Regions from separate parts of the Homo sapiens genome. Here region 1 is linked to region 2. The links are contacts of gene promoters, found by promoter capture Hi-C in human tissues and cell types (Jung and others, 2019). All regions are on one chromosome and are shown on one strand. Each heading gives the region's core, a stretch centred on a gene start or on the middle of the fragment in contact. The rest is flanking DNA. Distances are from core to core; before and after follow the strand shown. Region 1 has its middle 68 kb from the start of KCNAB1. Region 2 holds the start of SSR3 (signal sequence receptor subunit 3).

Region 1 (4,101 bases), core at 344-2,843, 500 kb before region 2:
CCACAGCTGCCATCAGGCAATCACTGGAAGCTCAGCAGGCCATTCTGAGCTCAGCAGCAGAAAACTGCTGAAAGAATAGGAAATAGGGTAAGGCTAAATAAAAATGCAATGTCAATTGTCACTTTAAAAAGTTACTTGTGGTATTCACTGAAGAAGAACATGTGTGTATATTCACTTCCTTGGAGTGAATTTGCTGAGTCATGGGGTATATCTGTCTATCTACCCCATGACTCAGCCAATTCACTCCAAGGAATATACCTAACTAAATATACCTAACTAAACTATGCCTGTATGTGTACCAAAAAGATGAATACTAGAAGATTTGCAGCAGCATTAAACTACTCAGATGTCCATCAACAGTAGAATGGATCGATAAACTGACATATACTCACTCAATGCAATAGTGTACAGCAATAAGAATGAATGGGCTGCTTTGTAGAGAAAAGAGTATGGGGTGGTAAGATTGGAAGCCGGGAAGTGATTTGGAAATTGGTAGTGATTACTGTCATCTAGGTAATAGCTCATGATGGCTTGGCTGGGAACAGAGCTCTCAACAATTTGGGGTGAGTTTAACCGTCACATCAGATTTGCTGGCATCCTTTAGACATCTGACACTTGCACATTTGAAGCACATGTTCAAATAAAAGGGTACACATTAGAAAGCTACAAATTTAAAAACCTAACATCACTTCCCAAAATAATCCTATCGAGAGATGACAATGTGTTAGCAGCCCTCGCTCACTCTCAGTGCCTCCTTGGCCTTGGCGTCTGCTCTGGCCACACTTGAGGAGCCCTTCAGCCTGCCAGTGCACTGTGGGAGCCCCTCTCTGGGCTGGTGGAGGCTGGAGCCAGCTCCCTTGGCTTGCGGGGAGGTGTGGAGGGAGAGGCGCTGGTGGGAACTGGGGCTGCGGGCAGTGCTCGCAGGCCAGCACGAGTTCCGGGTGGGCGCAGGCTCAGTGGGCCCCACAGTCAGAGCGGCCGGCCCCTGGGCAGTGAGGGGCTTAGCACCTGGGCCAGCAGCTGCAGAGGGTGCGCCGGGTCCCCCAGCACTGCCAGCCCGCCGGCACTGTGCTTGAATTCTCACTGGGCCTCAGCTGCCTCCCCACGGGGCAGGGCTTGGTTCCTGTACCCCACCATGTTGTCCCCTCTGCCTAGCTCCTCTGCACCACCTCCCCTGCCCCCTCTCTCCCCCACTTCCCTCTTCCCCTCTCCCCACCCCCCACTCCTGCTCTCCCCCCTCCCCCTGCCCCCCACAACCTCCCCCTCCCCCTCCCCCTTTTTCTTTCTCTCCCCCCCGCCACCCCACCCTCCTCCCCCGCCACCCCACCTCCTCCCCTGCCACCCCACCCCCACCCTCCCCTCCATGGGCTCCCACACAGCTCGAGCCTACCTGACCAGCGCCGCCCTCTGCTCCACGGCGCCTGGTCCCATCTACCACCCAAGGGCTGAGGTGTGCAGGTGCGTGGTGTGGGACTGGTGGGCAGCTCCATCCATGGCCCAGGCACTGGATCCACTAGGCAAAGCCAGCTGGGCTCCTGAGTCGGGTGGGGTCTTGGAGAACTTTTATGTCTAGCTGGAGGATTGTATATGCACCAATCAGCACTCTGTGTCTAGCTCGGGGTTTGTGGATGCACCAATCAGCACTTTGTGTCTAGCTCAAGGTTTGTAAATGCACCAATCAGCACCCTGTGTCTAACTCAAGGTTTGTAAATGCACCAATCAGTGCTCTGCATTTAGCTAACCTAGTGGGGACTTGGACAACTTTTGTGTCTAGTTAAAGGATTGTAAATGCACCAATCAGTACTCTGTGTCTAGCTCAAGGTTTGTAAATGCATCAATCAGTGCTCTGTGTCTAGTTAATCTAGTGGGGACTTGGAGAACTTTTATGTCTAGCTAGAGGATTGTAAACACACCAATCAGCACCCTGTCAAAACAGACCAATCAGCTCTCTGTAAAACGGACCAATCAGCAGGATGTGGGTGGGGTCAGATAAGGGAATAAAAGCAGGCTGCCCCAGCCTGCAGCAGAAACCCATTCGGGTTCCTTTCCATGCCATGGAAGCTTTGTTCTTTCGCCCTTTGCAGTAAATCTTGCTGCTGTTCACTCTTTGGGTCTGCACCCACCTTTAAGAGCTGTAACACTTACCGCGAAGGTCTGCACGTTCACTCCTGAAGCCAGCAAGACCACGAACCCACCGGAAGGAACGAATAACTCCAGACGCGCAGCCTTTAAGAGCTGTAACACTTACCGCGAAGGTCTGTGGCTTCACTCCTGAAGTCAGCAAGACCATGAACCTACTAGAAGGAAGAAACTCCGGACACATCTGAACATTTGAAGGAACAAACTCTGGACACGCCATCTTTAAGAACTGTAACACTCACTGTGAGGGTCCACGGCTTCACTCTTGAAGTCAGTGAGACCACAAACTTATCAAAAGGAAGAAACTCTGGACGCATCTGAACATCTGAAGGAACAAACTCCGGACACATCTGAACATCTGAGGGAACAAACTCCGGACACACCATCTTTAAGAACTGTAACACTCATGCGAGGGTCCGCGGCTTCATTCTTGAAGTCAGCGAGACCAAGAACCCACCAATTCCGGACACACTATTACATTGTACTAGCTTCTACTGCCCTTTGTATTTCTGATTAATAAGGAAATCCTTTAACTTGATAAAGCCACCTGGGTAGAAAATGATTTTGTCAGTGATTGCCTGAGCTTGCTAGTAGTTGAAAAACATAAATAAAACTTTCTTGCTTCTTCTTTCCCATTTAAGTTTAGAGTGAGTAAACAAACCTTTTTCCTTTCTGTCTTTATTTTGTTTAGTAGTGCTTTTACAAGTGCTGTTGGAGAAGACAGCCATATTCTAGGAGGTGTCAAGAGAATAAAAATGGATATGGGATGCAAATGCTGTTTCTGTTCTTTAAAAAGCAACTAGCTAACCCAGAAACCATTGCTTGGTACACATGTGTGTGAAACAGACACAATCTCTTTGGGTCATTTATTGATATGGTGAGATGCAAAGCAAAGAAATTAGAGTTATCGCTTAACCAGCACCTGGCCTTTTCTTCCTCCCTAAATCAACCTTGATTTCTAATTTTTATCTAACTTTATCTTTGAAGTTTCTCTTCATGATGCTCCCATTTTTGGGGTGGAGTATATTGATTTATAGGTCAAGCACATGAGTTTCTTAAGGCAAAGCACAAATTACTTACTACTTGATTGTTGTTTTGTTGTTGTTTTTGTCTTTGCCTTACTAACTTCAGTTTAAAAGTAAATCTTTCCACAGTGTAAAGTAGACTGACAGACTGGCCAGCATCCTCAGTGATGGTCTTGATTGGGAAGACAAACGCAAGGTGATTTAGTGTCGTAGTCTCAGAACTGGTTGGAGAAGGTAGAGCAAAATGGCTAATAACAATGATTTTAGAAAAACAATGGCTTGGTGCTGATTGTGTACTTTCTTGCTGTGTAATCTCAGGTCAATTACTTTACCTCTCTAAGCACTAAGCCTGGCACATAGTAAACATTCAACAACTGTTAGCTAGTTACACTAGTTGTAACAAAGAGAATTTAACTATTAGCTATTAGTATTGTTATTAGTAGTTGCACCTATGTGTATTTATCCCAGCCCCATGGATTGAGCATTTTATTTTATTATTTGAGACAAAGTTTCACTTTGTTGCCCAGGCTGGAGTGCAGTGGCACGATCTCGGCTCCCTGCAACCTCTGCCTCCTTGGTTCAAGCAATTCTCGTGCCTCAGCCTCCTGAGCAGCTGGGATTACAGGTGCCTGCCACCAGGCCTGGCTGATTTTTTATATTTTAGTAGATACAGGGTTTCACCATGTTGCCCAGGCTGGTCTCGAACTCCTGAGCTCGGGGAATCCACCCAGCTCGGCTTCCCAAAGTGCTAGGATTACAGGCGTGAGCCGCCGTGGAACTGGGCATTTTAAACCCCAGTGGGACAATGAGCCCTTCTTTATTTCCTATGAGTGTTAGTGGCACTTTTGGACCATATAGTTCCAGAAATCAGAAACCTGGGAACCATCGTTAACAATTCTTTTTCCTTCCACTGTCACCTCCATTCTCCTTCCAAACT
Region 2 (4,057 bases), core at 307-2,806:
ATGCTTATTAAAACCAACACACACAAATGATCTTTAAGAAGACATATAAAAATATAACATGTAGTACGTACTTTCACTTGAAAAACATACTTACTTGTGCTTGAGAACAAATTTCACATTCTTGTATGCAAAGGCTACCAAATATGTGCTTACTAGGGTCATCACACTATACAAAACAGCAGACTGAATAAGATCCATATGCCATATTCGCCAGTATAACCCTGAATTAAAATAAAAGGGGGAAGGGTACAAAAAGAAGCAAAACATTACAACCCCGCAACAAAAGCCTGCGAAATTAATTATAGCTAAGCCTGGTAAAATACCAGGTTATTAGTTATGCAATCCAATAGTATCTGAGGATCTTCAGAAGCGAGATAACCAGTAACAGTATAGTCTCAAGCTTTCCAGTTCAGAACATTTGAAAAACATCACCTTCCTATTACTAGTCCAGATGAGATTTCAACTTCTAAAATGAGAACAAACTCTGGCTCAACGTAATCACAAGTCAGACTTCAAATTTCATTCATCAGGGTACTAGCATGCGAAACACAGGCCATTCCAAAATGCCACGTGCAGCCCCAAACCATAGTTTCCTTGCTGACGTGGCTGTTATCAGAACTCCAAGCAGTGCTATGTCCAATTAGTGAGCCATCATATGGCTTCACATCACGTTAATGGCACGCTGGGTTGTATAAGGACAAAAGAGAAAAATACATTTAGTTTTAAATGCCCAACAACAGTGCAGCAAAAGACAGGAGTTCTGGAAACTTGAGCTCTACTAAAAACGACCTTGTCCAAGTCTGCAGTTTCCCAACCAAGTGAGAATTCTAGAATTGGTCCAGTAGGATTATTAAAAAGTATAAATAAGGTAGATCCCTAACCCCTGGCACTTCAACCTCTCTCTTTTTGCAAAAACCAGGAAAATTATGCAATGGTGTGAAGTAGCTCACGTAAAGATGCACTTATAATTCAGTGGGTCACTTCATGGGTTTCTCACCTAACTAATTTATGCAAAATAAGTAATAAGTTTAAAATTTCGTAACGGCAAGCAACAGTTGTATAGAAAAGGGCAGAGGCAGTATGCTTGAGTTTGTCTGTTTAAATAGAGATTCGGGGCCGCCACCCCAGAACTAGTTAACCACCTTCTCCTGGGGTGGAGCTCGGGAACGTGCGTACTTTTAACAAGTGACCTCCCCGAGTGCTGCACAGGACAATCCCAAGCGACAACACTGTGCCCAAAGAAGAGGCTCCGTGCCTCCCCGAGCTCAGGGGAGCTGGAGAGATTGCCGACCCCCGGCCGGCACCCACGCCTTCCCTGCTCGCCGGGTCCTGCCACGTCCCCGCCCAGCCCGACTAGCCGGCGGCCTGCCTAACCCGCCTCGCTCCCAGCACTCACAGATGGGGATGGCAGACACGATGAACGCGTTTCCGAAGAAGAGCGCGGAGGACTTGGCCGAGAGATTGCGGCTGAAATCCTGCAGGAGCAGGTCCTCCTCAGACTGCTGTTTGGAGCTGCCTTTAGGAGCCATGGCGGAGCTGCAGGCGAGAACAGGGAACGTAGAGCCGGCCGCCAAGGCGGGCAAAGGCCCTTGACTCCGCCCCTGCGGCCGCCGTATCCGCTAACGACCCGTCAGCGCGGCGCGCGGAGGCGGGACCCGGTTTGGCGAAGAGCAAGCGTCCCCAGGATTGGCCAGCTTGGCGCCACTAGATAGGCTTCCGGGCGTGATTGGGCGAGCGGGCCAGACTTCCGGATTCCTGACAAGCCACGTGACCCACCCACCTGGAGGAGAGAGAAGGGATTTGTAGTTTAGTCGGTGCTTTAAAAAAAATTAACAAAACTTTATTGATATTCCACTTCAGAGCTGCTGACAGACTCACGAGTTCTCAGTTCTTCAGAATTCCAAAATTAAAAGCTCTTCTGGCCCCACGCCATTAGTGCCCTCTGTGCGTACCCAGGACTGAGTACGTTGAAGAAGAAAGAAGAGAAAGGTATAGCTAACTCATGTAAAATCCCTTCTCCTTTACACATCCTTTATTTCATTAAATACCTTGAAGAATCTTATGACGTGCGCATCATTACCGCCATTGCAGCTGAAGAGCCTGAGGGTCGTAGACCTGCGGTGTGGGTCTCCAAGGCGTGGGCTCTTTTCACTAAACAATAGGCCACCTCTGTAGGAAGAAGAAAATGGGACTCTTGCTTTTAAGAAACTCATGATCTCATTGATGAAGGCAATATTTAATATATGTCTGATACAAGTTACTACTATTTTATTTTATTTCAACTAGACCTATAGAGTTTTGTGGCTTCCAAAGCCATGCTAAATAAAACATAATACTAAGAACAGGTTGGCTAGGCAAGACTCCCTCTCTGAAGCTCAGAAGGATTAAGTATGTCTATTAAAACAGCTAGATTCCATTTTTAACTCAACACATTATCATTTTTTCTTCAAAAAAAAATTCAACCACATCACTCCCAGCAAATGCTACTTTTGATTACTGAGAACACTCTAGTGCATTAGGCACAATTTCCTCAACCTCCAGCCTCCTTATTAACCGTTTGGTAGATATCTTTCTTCCTCACAGTATCCAAATTGTAATCTACCTCCACAGCTTCCTATTACTAGTCCTAATTGGGCTTTTGTCTTCAATCTTTTCCAGTCTATTCTCTATACAGGTACCAGAGTGAGTTTTCCTGAAATATAAATCCTTCCATTATCTACCGCAAGTGTTCCTTAATGCCAGAAGTTTTCATTAATTCACCACAAAATGAAAAAGAAAAAAAGACCATCTAGTGAATTTTTCAGAAAATCAAAAGTATTCATTTAAAAATATCTGGGTTTATGTCTTTTTTGATGTTAAAAATGCTCTTTATTTTATTACATGGTAGTGATAGAAGAAGAAATTATTATTTTCTCTTACACATACTCCTCCCCCAGTTTTTCCTATCTCACTAAGTTGCATTCTTTTAAACTCATTTGTTGTTCTGGTTAAAATAGTGGGTTTCAACACTAATTATTTTTTTCCTTCTCCATCTATGACCAATTCATAAATAAAACTTTTTGGATCTGTCTCTATAACTAGATTTTCTTCTGCCTATTTATAAACAAACTAAGGATATAAAAAGAAGATAAAAGATAAAAATCAGAGGCTGGGTGCGGTGGCTTATGCCTGTAATCCCAGCACTTTGGGAGACCAAGGTGGGTGGATCACAAGGTCAAGAGACCGAGACCATCCTGGCCAACATGGTGAAACCTCGCTTTTACTAAAAATACAAAAATTAGCCAGGCATGGTGGCGCACGCCTGTAGTCCCCAGCTACTCAGGAGGCTGAGGCAGGAGAATCACTTAAACCCGGGAGGCAGAGGTTGCAGTGAGTCAAGATCGCGCCACTACACTCCAACTCCAGCCTGGCAACAGAGCAAGACTCCATCAAAAAAAAAAAAAAAAAAAAATCAGAAAACTAAAAGATCCAAAGAGACAACAATCATCTTTCTTTTAAAAGAAGAAAAGAAGAAATGATAAGGATGAGATTTAAAAAAATTATGCCTGAGAAAAATATTTTAACAATTAAAATAGGAAAGATAAAAGTTTGAAATGTTTAGTGGATATAAATGTTACAATTGATATAATCAAAAAAAGCTAGCAGAAAAAAATTAATACATTTTGTAAAGCTAAAGGTAACTATAAACAGAAGATAATCTAAAATATGAATTTCAAATTATTTTGTGGGGGTAAATTAGAGAAATATGATAGGGAATGATACTTATGATAGAATATTTTTGGTAATGGCAACAATTACAATTATGAAGGTGGCACACTTGGAGTACTGAAGCAGTGTTTTCTTGCACCAGAGCTACCTAGTTCCCTTTAAAAAGCAAGCAGCAAGACCTAAGGATCACTTGTATGTGGCATATATAGCCGTGGCACACATAGCCGTGGCACACTGGACAACCAGGGTACACAATGTGCTAAAAAACAGAAGGAGAGGTGGGTAGTAAATTCTACCCAAGCAAAGATCTACAATATATTTTGCCCATTTCAACATAGCTTAACTCTGA

Evidence for each region. Contacts are between HindIII fragments. The study calls those that stand out against the background at their distance.
Region 1: a contact is called between a fragment that was not itself captured here and the fragment with the promoter of SSR3 in region 2, in 1 of the 25 tissues and cell types used here (mesendoderm cells).

The regions. Positions count from the first base shown.
Region 1 is chr3:156,050,898-156,054,998 of GRCh38, forward strand. No RefSeq gene overlaps it. Among named protein-coding and RNA genes, the nearest start is that of KCNAB1, 68 kb to the right of the region's middle. The HindIII fragment of the contact is 4,265 bases long and covers 1-3,726 here.
Region 2 is chr3:156,553,561-156,557,617 of GRCh38, forward strand. SSR3 (signal sequence receptor subunit 3) reads right to left here and starts at 1,557. Exons shown (of 5, transcript NM_007107.5): 1 at 1,397-1,557; 2 at 95-221. The coding sequence starts at 1,529. RefSeq lists an enhancer at 1,416-1,495. The HindIII fragment of the contact is 9,549 bases long and covers 1-4,057 here.